2 separate regions of the Homo sapiens genome follow, and region 2 is linked to region 1. Evidence: promoter capture Hi-C in human tissues and cell types (Jung and others, 2019). All regions are on one chromosome and are shown on one strand. Each heading gives the region's core, a stretch centred on a gene start or on the middle of the fragment in contact. The rest is flanking DNA. Distances are from core to core; before and after follow the strand shown. Region 1 holds the start of STOM (stomatin). Region 2 overlaps C5-OT1 (C5 3' UTR overlapping transcript 1).

Region 1 (6,949 bases), core at 1,797-4,296:
TTAGAGAGAAGGGATCATTAAATTACTGTACTCCCCTCCTTATCTTCTCCAGAAGGCTAACAAAGTGACTGCACAAGCTGCACTCCATCCCAGGAATACAAACAGTTCTTGGCCAGTATTTGACTAAAAGTCAACTGCAAGCTCTGAGTCAGGTTTTGATCACACACTGGAGCCTGTTCCTGCAAGCAAAGATCATCTTAATGCCTCTCTTAACACCTGTTGTGTCTGCTCCCGTTTCCGTCCTGATAGTCACAAAGCTCCAGAGCTGTAAAATCAGAGAGAAAGTCTACCATTTCATATGACCTAAGCACCACAAGGTGTTGGGTAGTACACAGCCAAATATTGAGCACATTAAGAAAGAAGTGCTCCTCCTGAGGGAGATCTTTGTGGTAATGGAATAGTTCTGTATCAATTACTGTGGTTATATCAATCTACACATGTTAAAATGGCACAGAACTATAAATACATTTTGTGCCACTGTCAATTTCCTGGTTTTGATACTCTAGTTAAGTAAGACGTAACTATTGGGGGAAACTGGGTAAAGGGGACATGTGACCTCTCTGTACTGTTGTTGCAAATTCCTGTGAATCTGTACTTATTTCAAAATCGAATGTTTTTATAAGTGCACCTTGTGTACATTAACATACTTTGAACATTGTGCAATAGAACAAGTCTAATGCAAACACAGCCTACTTTCCAAATATGAGGTCTTCAGCCACACCCCAAGAGAAGGCCTGAGGTTGGGAATGCCCTTGCACATGCTTTTCCCTCTACCTGGGATACCCTTTCCCACCTCCTGCACCGCTTATTCCCCTTCCCCAGGCTGGCTCCTTCTCATTTCTCAGGCGACATCTCAAAGCCCCTTCCTTACAGAGGTGTTCCCCTGTCCTAACCTTTGCTGTTCTCCGAATATTCCACTCCTTTCACAGCTTCCTTCACCATGTGTAATGATTCAATTACTTGTTTGTGGCCCATCTCCCAACTAGAGTATAAGGTAAACTCCACGAGGCCCTTAGCACACTCCCTGCCACATGGAAGATGCTCCAAGAAGATTTTGTTTGAATAAATGACCCCACCGACTGAATGGACTCCCTTGTGGCCAAGGGGACTCCAGAAAACTTTAAAACTGAGTTCCCAGCCAATGACAGGACAGAAGGTCAGACTCGCCTCATTATAACTTCATCGTATTGGAGTTTAGACACAACAGCTGACCAGCATTAACGTTAAAACACAGATCATAAGACTGACAGAACAGACTGTTTGTGACAATAAGATACCAAATTATAAACAAATTATACCTAAGGTCATGCCAGGCAAAGGTTAAGGCACACATCCCTTCACTTAGAGAATAAACTGTGTTCTAACTGCCACAAGGTTGTTCTCTTTCTCTAGCAGCTTAACAAGCACTGGCCTCGAGATAAGCAATATTAAAACAATTTGCAGCTCCACCAGATGTGGCCTAATGGAACCCCTATTCCACCAGCCATCATTACAGCTTTAATTGGACAAGAGGCTGATTTCAGTAACTTTCTCCTCATAGGAAAACTACCGACCATGGACTGGCTCTGGCTAGTTTACACAGACTGCATACTTGCACACCTTCCTGTCCTGAAAAGACCTTTTGACGCATGGGGTCTAACTGTAATACATGTATTGTTATTATTTTTTAGAGTCCATCAGGCTGGAGTGCAGTGATCTGATCATACATCACTGCAGCCTCCAACTCTTGGGCTCAAGTGATCCTCCTGCCCCAGCCTCCTGACTAGTTGGGACCGCAAGCACACACCACCCCACCTGGCTATTTTTTTTTTACTTTTTGTAGAGATGGGGACGTCACCATGCAGGCCAGGCATTTAACATTTAATTGGTAACTCTTCACTCCAAAATGAACATGGGTTGTATGTTACATGCATGTTTGCTCAATGGGCATGCGTCAGGACCACCCTCATGAATATTCATAGCTCCTCCTGTCACCTGCTGAATATGCATGTCTACCCAAGCTGTTCAGCATAAAGCCGCTACTCCAACCCCTCCTCCAACGAAATGCCTGTCTCTGGTCCTGGCCATTCTCCAGCCTGCGGAATGGCCACCTTGCAGGCTGTAACCCCTTACAAGAAATAAAGTCTCCTCTCCTGTTTTTTTGTTTTTTGTTTTGTTTTTTTGAGACGGAGTCTCGCTCTGTCACCCAGGCCATCTCGGCTCACTGCAACCTCTGCCTCCCAAGTTCAAGCGATTCTCCTGCCTCAGCCTCCCAAGTAGCTGGGATTACAGGCGCGCGCCACACGCCCGGCTAATTTTTGTATTTTTAGCAGAGACGGGGTTTCACCATGTTGGCCAAGCTGGTCTCGAACTTCTAACCTCAGATGATCTACCCGCCTCGGCCTTCCAACGTGCTGGGATTACAGGCGTGAGCCACCGCGCCCGGCCTCCTCTCCTTTTCCAAATTTATACATTTTGATTTTCTTAACACACCTCACTCGAGTTCGTTCACTTCGGCTGCGGCGTGATCTGCCGGCCCTCTCAGCTCAGGCTGACCTCAGCGCCCTCACTTCGGCCACTTCTGTGTCCCTCAGTCTTCTCCCCTCAACTCGGACCTCGCGCCCTCATGACAGGGCGCCATTTTCTTCCCTCTAACTCCTCAGCCCAGAGGAGGCGCCTTGGTCCCGTACCTCTGCCCGGCAAGGCGACTTTTCTTCACTTGCACTTTTGCCTCGGGTCATCCTCTGCTGCTACCTCCCCACTATCCTCACCATCTGCTCCACGTCCCGTGGCTTCCGCCCTCCCTTCCGGTGCAGGGCCCCGGCCTCATACCCACAGCCTTGGGGGCTCTCGCCCCTCAGGCCACGCCCCTCAGGCCACGCCCCTCAGCCCACAGAACTAGCGGGAAGTGACTGCGAAGCAGTCGCGCCGTGGAGGGACAGGAGGGCGGGGATTGGGAGGTGGGTCCTCCTCGATCCTGGGCGTTGATTGGCCAACTCTCACGAGGGCGGGACCTCGATTGGGGGCGGGGCGGCAATCTGGGTCTTGTGCCTCTGGCTCCTCAGGGCATTCCCGGCGGCTCCGGGTTTGGCAACGAGGACGGGGGAGTGCGACTGCGTCTCGGGCAGCATGGCCGAGAAGCGGCACACACGGGACTCCGAAGCCCAGCGGCTCCCCGACTCCTTCAAGGGTGAGTCCCGCGTCCCCTGACCCTCCCCCGTGGACCGAGCCCCCGCCCGCAGCGTGCGCTCCGAGGTCTGACAGCCGGGCTCCTGGCCAGTCTCCGCTGCTTCGGGCTGGGCGAGATCTCAAAGCCGCGGCTCCTCCCTAGTAAACTGAGCATCACGAACCCTGTTTGGCAGACTGAGGTCACGATGGAGGGGTGGCGGGCTGCCAACGGCACGTTTCCCATCGCACGGGCCCTGGTTATCTCGCGGCCGCCAGATGCCAAGCCCCATGCCAGGGCTGCACTATCTCGTGTCACGCACGCGGACTAGGAAACGCAGAGGGAACTGGCAGCCAGCGAGGCGGGGACCGGGACCCCACATCTCACCCTTTGCCCACTCCCCTTCTTTCCCGACTCACTCTCTCGAAGGCCGCCTCCTCCACCCAGCCCTGGCCTGGCCCCAGGGTGAACCCCCTCCTCCCCCAATCCCACCTCCCGAAACTTAGACCGATTTGCAGAAGGAAGAAGTCTCTCTGGCTTTCTTCTTACCTCTCTTTCTAGCTCCACTTTCTGCCCCATTTTTCCCCCTCCGCTTTCCTCTGCGTTTTGGAGAACTCTCCTTCCCGGCTTTTGTTCCTCGCCAGGAACCCTGAGTTCTCCCACCCTCACCCCCACCCTCCCTTCCCAGTCTTCAAGGCAGGAGCTGTAAGTGGCTCAGTCTCGTTCCCCTGTGGAGGAACTGGTACTCTGGGGAGGGGGTTCCAATAAAGAGAGATGGTGGACCTCTCAGGAGTCCTGGTACCCACTCAGGAGCTCTTAGTGATCCAGAGGAATTACAGTGTTTCTAAAGATGGAATTTCAGGCAGGATGGCAGTGAAAGCAATTTAGAGGGCTGGGTGGTCCTTTCCAGGACCCCTCAAAGAACATGACATTGGAGTCATCTATTCTGATTATTTGTAAAGCCAGCTTTATCCACAGCATCTTAGCTATAAGTTCCATTTCCCTTGTCCAGGGATCCCTGTGTTCAGTTCCTTCCCAGGAGCATCAAAGGAATTACAGAAATCTTTATTCCTCACTTTTTGTCTACTAATAACGTTGCAGGTTATCTTCCCAAATGGAGAGTGTAACAGGGAGGAGTTGATGAGAATAATGGCAACCACAACAACAAAAATTGAAACTAAATAGGTCAGGCTCCGTATCACTTTTTTTTTTTTTTTTGAGACGGAGTTTCGCTTTTCTTGCCCAGGCTGGAGTGTGATCTCCGCTCACTGCAACCTCCGCCTCCCGAGTTCAAGTGATTCTCCTGCCTCATCCTCCCAAGTAGCTGGGATTACAGGCGTGCACCACCATGCCCAGCTGATTTTGTATTTTTTGTAGATACAGGGTTTCACCATGTTGGTCAGGCTGGTCTCAAACTCCTGACCTCAAGTGATCCACACGCCTCGGCCTCCCAAAGTGCTGGGATTACAGGCATGAGCCACCGCGACCCCCCCAGTGCCACGTATTTTATGTATATATTATTTTATTGAATCTTCACAACAGATGATGTGGTAGGTATTCTTATCCCCATATTATACTTGATGAAACTGATAGTCAAAGAAGTTAAATTACTTAAAGTCACTTAGTTTGTATTTAAATCTAGATTTGACTGATTCTAAAACTTGAATAGGGAAAAAATGGGTGGTAACTGCCTCTTCGATAGTTAGTTGTCTTTTCCTAGATAAAAAGGTGGGTATTAGCATGCATTCCTCAATACCCTGACCTCCTGGTGGGAAACTGCAGTGGCAAATCTGCTTGGAGTTCTTTGAGAATCAACATGATCTTTGTACTTAATGTTTATTTACAGACAAGTGGTCATAGATGAGTTTTTAACTTCCAGTTTTTTTCCTTGGTTCTACACTTAACTACTGTTTAGACAGAAATCTTTCAAGATCTAATGAAAACCACCACTTCCTCTCAAAAATTAGACATACAAATAAAATTTTGCATAGTCTGTGTTTTTTTAATGTAAACCTAACAAATTTGACGCTACTAGGAAAGGTATTGCTGGAATTTATTAAATAGAGGTTATTGAATGCTTTCCCTGTGCCAAAAGACAGTTTAAGTGCTTTACAAACATTATCTAATTGCATTCTGTAACAGCTCTACAAGGAAAAAGTCATTATTCACCATTTCACAATAAGGATACTGCGGCTCACATGGCAAAATCACAGTTTCTAAAATTTTCAGCCCTGTTTCAAACCCCGGCTATCTGATTTTCTGAATCATTTTCCCTATCCCAGAGATGGATACCAAAATGTAGAACCTTGTCTAACTTCAGTACTTTACTTAAGTTGAGAGACAATAAACAAAAAAAGCCTGGAGGAACACAGCTTCAGTGATGACTTCCAGAAGGCTGCTTGTGAAAGAAGCAGTGGAATTTTAAAAGCCTAAACTCTGCCTCTTTGTCTTTACTGAGAATTAGTCCTAGGTAGGTAAATAGCACCAGGCCTAGGGCAAGACTAGTTTTTCTTAAAGGCGATGCATTCACTTTGTAATGAAATAATGCAAGTAATTGCAAAGAATGTATCACTGTAATTAAGAGCCATGTCAACAAATAAAACCCTTTGGGAGACTGATTGTTTATTTCAGTTGTTATAGCCAATCAGATTGGAGAGAACTTTGTAACTTCTTCAATAATTAATCTGAGTTATTCCATCAGTGGTCATAAATTAACTTATGGAAGACCAAGTCTACAAAACTGGCATATTTATTCATGATTAAATAGATTTTTGGTGCCATTTGATGGTATAAATTTTACCTAGTAAAAGACAGTCACTGATTCCTAGTCATCTTTGAGGGAAAAAAAAGATGTTGATAAAGTGATACAGATGGAATTCAAAATCAGTTTTTTTAAGAAGGCATGGAAAAGCAATTTCCTGAAAACTATTGTAACTACAAAAAAAGTGAATACCCTTTCCCTGCGTCTGCCTGGTATCCTGTGCATATCTCTATCATAATGTTTATTACATAACATATTTATCAGTTTGACTCATCTGTCCCCTCCCCTCCCATAATTAAACTACACTTTTTCTTTTTGAGACCGGGTCTTGCTCTGTTGCCCAGGCTGGAGTGCAATGGTGCAGTCATAGCTCACTGTAGCCTCAAGTGATCCTCCCACCTCAGCCCCTCGAGTAGCTGGGACTACAGGTATGCACCACCACACCCAGCTAATTTTTTTTTTTTTTTTAACTCAGGGTCTCACTATGTTGCCCAGGCTGGTCTCGAACTCCTGGACTCAAGCGATCCCACTTTACCCTCCCAGAGTGCTGGGACAACAGGCATGAGCTACCAAGCCTGGCCTTTAGACCACACTTTTGAAAATAGAGATTGTGTCCTTCTTCACTGTAGTAGCCCAGTATCAAGTACATAGTAGGTATACAAAAACATTTGTTCAAAGAAAAAGGAAGCAGGCAGGGAGATAAAAATCCCCCTGGAGTAAATAACATTGTTAAGTGTTTGCCTTAGCCTTATGTTGGTGGAGCAGTTTTTCTGTTTACCATTTATTTTATTAAGTTTGTTATAACTTAAGCTGTTGATTTTAGGGCATGGCCATTATGTTTATTATATATTATTACAGATAGACTATTTGTCTGGGTTTATATTATCAATAAAAGGATTATAATTGCCAAGATAATATATTGTCCTTAATAAGAAATCTCCTTTTATTTATTAAAGCATGGAAAGAGAAGTTTAGAGGTCATGGTTAGTAGAAAGAAGGAAGTGTGTGTCAATAGATAATTTTCTATTGACACACACTTGTTG
Region 2 (6,949 bases), core at 2,980-5,479, 430 kb after region 1:
GATAATGCAGAAAAGAATGGGCATGGACTAGGCAGGCTGGATTTAGCCCTTGGGCAGCAGCATACCGATCCCTGATCCATGACCCATGGTTGTAGGCAGAGAAGCTGAGCACATGCAGCAGACGCTGGCAAGGGGTAGATGTGGTGAGAGTCTGTGGAAGTCCCTTTCTCAGAGAAGTAGGATGAAGATCATCACCTGAGATGGAGGATAGGGAGGAGCAATTGGAGGTGTGACGGGAGGAAAGAAGGGTGAGACAGTTATCTAAAAGAGAGGGAGGCTGAACCAACTAAGGACTTGTAATATATTTGCTTCTTCGTATTAAGGGTCCACTTGAAGTTTCTAGTCATGAATTTAAAGTGGGACTGATCAGCATGGGTTGTGGGATTTTCTCCAGCCACATACACATCCTTTTCAGAATCTAATGAAAGCTATAGACTTATCAATTCCCTCCAATCAAGACAACCAGGAATACCTGGAACTGAACAAGTTTCAGTTTATTGAGTCTTTGCAACAAGGGAGAACACACACCATGGGGACCATAAGGCTTCTCGGTGAGAGTGCATTAGAAAAGCCTTATTATAGGATTTGTACTTGTGATAGAGTATTTGGGAGGAGCCTCAAAGAAATGGAACTTTACTCTGGATTGGATGCTTTCAGGAAGCAGGGGCAATCCTATGACCCAGTATCTTATTTCTTTTCTAGCTGGGAGGAAAAGTAGCAGCACTTACTCACTTTAGCCAGGAAAAGGGTGTGTGTGGTCATTTTTGTGGTTTGGACAATGTTCTTGTTTTTATATCCTGCTCAAACATGATTATAGAGTAGTCGTTTTTAGTATGGATCCATTTTGTCTGATGTTGATGTTCTATGACATCAGACACAGAGAACACCCCAGCCTGGCTCTGGGCACCAGACTGGCTCCCAGGGACACCGAGGCCTCACGCCAGTTGTCCAGGGCCACTCTTCTCTTTCACAGACCCCTGTCCCAGAAACATGCACATACACACACCATGCTCACAGCCTCATACCTGACAGAGGCCCCCCGCCACCAAAATTCCACTCCTTCTCTGTTTCCATCATTATAGTCAGATATGTGTATGTTACATGCACAGTCATGAATTATACAAATCTAAAATGCCCACACCAGAAAGGACCTAGAGCTCATCTCATCCGATTCCTTCATTTTTTGCCTGTGAACATGGAGGTCCAGAGGAGCAGCTTGTCTAGGATTATGGTGCTGATAAATGGAAAGGCCAGGACAGAAGCCCAAGTGAGGCCTCTGAACACCGCATTCTTCCCACCACTGAGATGAGCAGGAGTTACAGAGACACCAGTTTTGGCTCCCTGTGAAGAAGCATTTTCTTATAGCCATAGCCATTCAAAAGTAGAGTCAGGTCCAAGTTCCTTATTGCTGGGGCCATCTGAGCAGAGTCTAGCTGCCACCTTCCAGGGATGTTTCTGGGCAATTCAAGGTAGGGGGCTTAATGTCCCTTCAGTGCTGAGAGACTTTTAATAGTCAAGAAAACATCTACTTGACTGCTTTAATAAAAAGGTGAAGTTTTCACATCTGAAAAACAGAAGTACTAATAATACCCAAGTCAGAGGATTTCTGCAAGGCTCAAATGAGATAATACAGATAATGCACATAAAATGATTAGCACAGTGCCTGGCACAATAAAAGTAACTTGTGGCTGGGTAATAATACCTCTCTGGCACACTAGAGGTGGTAAATTCAATAATTTTTTACCTGTGAACATCCTACTTAGATTCATAAAATATTGACATTTAAAGATCCTCTAGAGATCATCTCATCAATGCCTCCCCATTTCACAGACCAGGAAGCAGGCCCAGGGAGGAGCCAGGACTCACCAAGAGGGTTCCACAACAGAGCTGGGGCTAGAACCCGCAGCACCAGGCTCCTCTGCCTTCCTATATGCAGCCTGGTGTCTCCTCAGGGCCTAATAGAAACATTGCCTGCAGGGGCAAGCAGAGACCCGAGCCTGGTGGTGAGGGCCAGGGCTAACATGTCTAACAGATGAGTTGGGAGCAATCAGAGGGTTTTGGTGTTGTTGTTGTTAGGCTGGAGGGGTGTGTGTGTGTGTGTGTGTGTGTGTGTTGGTGTTGGAAGGGTGGTCGGTGGGAGGGGGGTTGAAACTGAATGAGACAAGAGAAATTGGAGTTAAGGAAAGGATTGTTTGGCTTAATAATATATTTTCCAAATAAAGAACCTTTAGGAAATTAGAGCCAGGACTAGACTGTAATTCTCTGAGGGCAAAGGAAGAGGAAGGGAAAGGAGATATGCTTAGAGTTGGAGGAGAAGGCAGAAAGGTTTCCTGAGTCTGTTAGGGCCTTGGGGCAAGGCTGGTCGTCATTCATCCTCTTCTTGCCTCCTCCTTTCACCTCTAAAGGCGAAAGGCCAAACTGTGGTCTGTTCATTAAATAAATGCTGGGTGTCGAAATTAAAATGGCTCACTGATTTGGCTATGTTGTGTGTGTGTGACTGACAGACAGAGAGAGAAAGGAGGAGTTAGTATGGGGAAGTGATACAGTGAAGAAGTAAGACATTGAACCATGAAACAGAGGAGCTGCCCTGACTTGTGGCCTTGGGAGAGTTCCTGAACCTCATCAAGTCTCAATTTGCCCATCTAGAAAGCGGAAGTAACATTATCAGCCCTAATGGGTTATAATGATTAGGAAAAACACCTTAGTGCCAACTCAGGAGCCCACAATCTGTGGCAGTCAGCTGGAGTGTGATTTCCAGCTGTCTTAACTCTCTAGGCCTCAGTTCTATCTTTTAAAAATAATGAAAGAATTTCCCCCAACCCAATTTACAGATTTGTTGCAAGGATGAAATAAGATCCAACAAGTGAGAGAAATTTTAAAATGTAGAATCTTGCACAAATATAAACATAGCATTAAAAACAAAAAGCATCTTTGTGCTAAGATACCATAGACAGAGACTGCCTGGTGTGCTTTTTTAAAAATTGGGAAAAGACCACTATCTTAAAAAACAACCTCCTCCAGTGCCTCGAATTTTCCCATTTGCCTTCCTCTTTTGGTCCTCAGGACTGTCAGCCTTAGAACAATGCTATACAAAGTGTGGTCCCTGGCCGCCTGGGAGTTTGTCAGGAATGCAAATTCCCAGACCCCACCCCAGACCTACTGAAACAGAAAATCTTGGGAGCAGAGCTCGGAGATCTATATTTTAATAAGATATCCAGGCCTGGCGTGGTGGCTCACGCCTGTAATCCCAGCACTTTGGGAGGCCGAGGCAGGTGGATCACGAGGTCAGGAGATCGAGTCCATTCTTGCTAACTCGGTGAAACCACGTCTCTACTAAAAATACAAAAAAATAGCCGGGCGTGGTGGCGGGTGCCTATAGTCCCAGCTACTCGGGAGGCTGAGGCAGGAGAATGGCGTGAACCCGGGAGGTGAAGCTTGCAGTGAGCCGAGATTGCGCCTCTGCACTCCAGCCTGGGTGACAGAGTGAGACTCCATCTCAAAAAAAAAAAAAAAAAAAATCCAGGAATATTATAGGCATGTTAAAGTTTCAGAAGTGTTGTTTAAGAGCTTGTGAAAGTGCAGGTTCTCATTCTATAGGTCTGGGATGGGTCATCCTGTTAACTTTTGTACGGTTTTAATAATTTTTCTTTTTTTCTTCTAATTACCATAATTTTATAATTACAGGTTGAGCATCCCAAATCTGAAAATCCAAAATCTGAAATGCTTCAAAATTTGAAACTTTTTGAGTACCAACATGACACCACAAATGAAAAATTCCACACATAAGTACTTAACACAAACTTTGTTTCATGTAAAACATTGTTTAAAACATTGTATAAAATTACCTTTAGGGGATGTATATAAGGTATACATGAAACATAAATGAATTTTGTATTTAGACATGGTCCCATCCCCAAGATATCTTATTGTATGTATATGCAAATATTCCAAAATCTGAAAAAAATCTGAAATCTGAAACACTTCTGGTTCCAAGCATTTTGGATAAGGATTACTCAACTGGTACCTTAGTCTGATTAATTTATTCTCAGCTTCTATGTATTAGTTCTTAGGGATTCTTTTTTTTAACTTCACCTTTTTTGTAATGTTCCTAGCAAATGTTATTCATGTTATTTCACTTTTTAAAAATTATGCCATTGCTCTAGTGGCGGAGCAGGAAGCAAAGGAATACAGGGCCAGCATGCTGCTGAATGGGCCTGGCAGCAGCAGAACTACGTGAAGAGGCCTCTGTGTTCCTGGAGGTTTATGGACAGAGGTCCTTGTGTAACTTAATGTTCCAGATCCCGTGTCCTAAGCAGAGTAGCTGCAACCCAGAAACAGCCTCTGCAAAGGAGCCTTCAGTACCAGATCCAAGCCTCACTTTGTGTCCTCACTCCCACTTGCTCATTGGCCCCTGACCCAGCCTTCAGGATTTCAACAGCAAGCCGAAGAGCAGGTGCTCCTGTCAGCTTTTCTGCTCACTCTGGCTCCTGTGGCCAGACCCAAGTTCATACAGCAGATCTTTCCTGCCCTGCGTGGGCCTTTGAGACGCTGTGGAGGGTGGGCCTGCTTGGTTGATTACTACTGCTGCTGCTTCTAGTTCCATTGACCCACCAGGGACAGCAGCTCTGATTCGGCCTATGCCTGCCCTCCGCCACCTCCCTCCTTCCTTTCTCCCTTCCCCTCCCCCCTCTCCCACATACCAGAAATCACTGTCTTGGCACTTGGGATTTGAAAATTTGCCCAACAAATGAAAACTGATCTTATCTGTCTGCAAAGCAATTCGACAATGCATTTCAGGAGCCAAAATATGTTTATATTTCTTGATCCAGTAATCCTTCTCCTGTTGAATGATTTATATAAATTCCCAAAAGGAAAAAAAAATAGTTGGTACACAAAGATCTTCTGTGGAAGATTATTCATTTAATAAATATTTATTGAGTGCCTCCTGCATGCCAGGCACAGTTCTAGATGGTGTAATCAAGATAAACAAAGTCCCTGCTCTCCTGGAGATTATGTTATAATTGAGGAAAAAGACAATAAATACCCACTTAAAGAGGGAAAATAATATATTTACTAAATTCTCTGCAGAGGAATTTTTTTTTTTCTTTTTGAGGTAGAGTCTCACTCTGTTGCCCAGGCTGGAGTGCAGTGGTATGATCTTGACTTACTGCAATCTCCGCCTCCCAGGTTCAAGTAATTCTCCTGCCTCGGCCACCTGAGTAGCTGGGACTACAGGTGCGCACCACCATGCCCAGCTAATTTTTCTTCTTTTAGTAGAGACAGGGTTTCACCATGTTGCCCAGGCTGGTCTCAAACTCTCAACTCAAGTGATCTGCCTGCCTCGGCTTCCCAAAGTGATGGGATTACAGGTGTCAGCCATCGCGCCTGGCCTCTGCAGAGAATTTTTTAAAAGTTCTATGATATAGAATGACTCAGTGGCTGCTCTAGATTGCATGGTTAGGGAAGGTCTATCAAATATCACTAAATAAGGTGGCATTTAAGCTGAGATTTTCTTGACAAGAAGGAACAACCACATGAAGGTCCAGGCTGGTGCGTGTAAAGACCCAGGGGTCCAGGGAACAGCGAGAAGGCTGACGTGGCTGGATCGAAGAAAGCAAGTGATGGACAATGAGGTCAGAGAAGTGAGAGGGGCCAGATCACTGGGATTTTGTAAGAACTGGTGAGATGTTTGGATTCTATGCAGTTGAGAGTATTAAGCAAAAGGGCATGAGACCAGGTTGTAGATGAGAACAGAGTCAGGGGAGACCAGTGAGGAGCTGGTGCCATTGTCATGTGACAGGTAACAGTAGCTTCAACTAGAAAGGAAGAAATGGAGATGAAGAGACAGGGATGAATTCAGGATAGTTTTGGAAGTGGTGCTGAGAGGATTTGCTGAAGGAATCAGGGTGGGGTAATGAATGCAGAGGAGTCAAGGATTACTCACGGATTCCTGGCTTGCACTGCTGCAGATGCCATTTACACAGCTGGAGAAGACAGGAGAAGGTACACATTTAGGAAAACAAGGAAAGAAGATGTTATGGGTTGAACACTACGTCACTCAAAAAGATATGTTGAAATTCAAATCTACAGTACCTCAGAGTAGGACCTGATTTGGAAATAAGTTTGTTGCATGTGTAATTAGCTAAGGTAAGATGAAGTCACACTGGAATAGGGTGGCTCTTAATCTAAAATGACAGGTGTCCTTATGAGAAGAGGGAAATGTAGACACAGGGATACGCAGAGAAAACCTCACGTGAAGATGCAGACACTGGGAGAGGACGGTCGCATGCAGACAGAGGTAGAAATTGGAGTAATGCATGTACAAACCAAGGAAGGCAAAGAACCACTGCTGTCACCTGAAGCCAGGAGAGAGGCACGGGACGGGTCCGCCCTCAGAGCCGGCCAGAAGAAACCAACCCTGCCGAAACTGCTTTCAGACTTCTAACCTCCAGCCCCGTGTGAGAATACATCTCTGTTGTTTCAAGCCACCCAGTTTGTGGCACTTTGTTACCCAGTGCTCACAAGCAAATACAGAAGAGAAGAAGGATTTCTGTCAGGGCTTTGTTATGTTTAAGAAGCCTTTTAGACATTCTTGTGGAGATATCAAGTAGGAATTAGCCTAGAATTACTATGAATCTAGAATTATGGTATATAAAGCAATACCACTGTAATTTATTGAAGTACTTTGTGTGATATAAAAAACCTGACATATAAATTAATAGTTCGAAAGGGGGAAATTGTAATTATTACTCATAATTACATGTAAATGACAGAATGCATATTCCATGAAATATTATGCAGCCTCTAAAAAGAATCATTTTAAAGACTAGGTAGGAGCATGAAAAATGCTTATGATCATCACAAAGGCAGTGATTGCCACTTTGTAATAACTGCCTACGAATGGGAAGCAGATGTCAAACTTTATGGATTCAAATCATAGCTTCAGCTC

What was found. Contacts are between HindIII fragments. The study calls those that stand out against the background at their distance.
Region 2: a contact is called between a fragment that was not itself captured here and the fragment with the promoter of STOM in region 1, in 1 of the 25 tissues and cell types used here (aorta).

The regions. Positions count from the first base shown.
Region 1 is chr9:121,366,347-121,373,295 of GRCh38, reverse strand. STOM (stomatin) reads left to right here and starts at 3,046. Exons shown (of 7, transcript NM_004099.6): 1 at 3,046-3,169. The coding sequence starts at 3,109. It overlaps LOC102723324 (a long non-coding RNA gene), which reads right to left and starts at 3,403. Exons shown (of 7, transcript NR_187160.1): 1 at 3,330-3,403. RefSeq lists enhancers at 2,532-2,621, 2,081-3,041. The HindIII fragment of the contact is 10,810 bases long and covers 1-6,949 here.
Region 2 is chr9:120,940,245-120,947,193 of GRCh38, reverse strand. C5-OT1 (C5 3' UTR overlapping transcript 1) reads left to right here. Exons shown (of 2, transcript NR_148450.1): 2 at 3,685-4,942. Among named protein-coding and RNA genes, the nearest start is that of C5-OT1, 9.1 kb to the left of the region's middle. RefSeq lists an enhancer at 2,299-2,348. The HindIII fragment of the contact is 6,248 bases long and covers 1,106-6,949 here.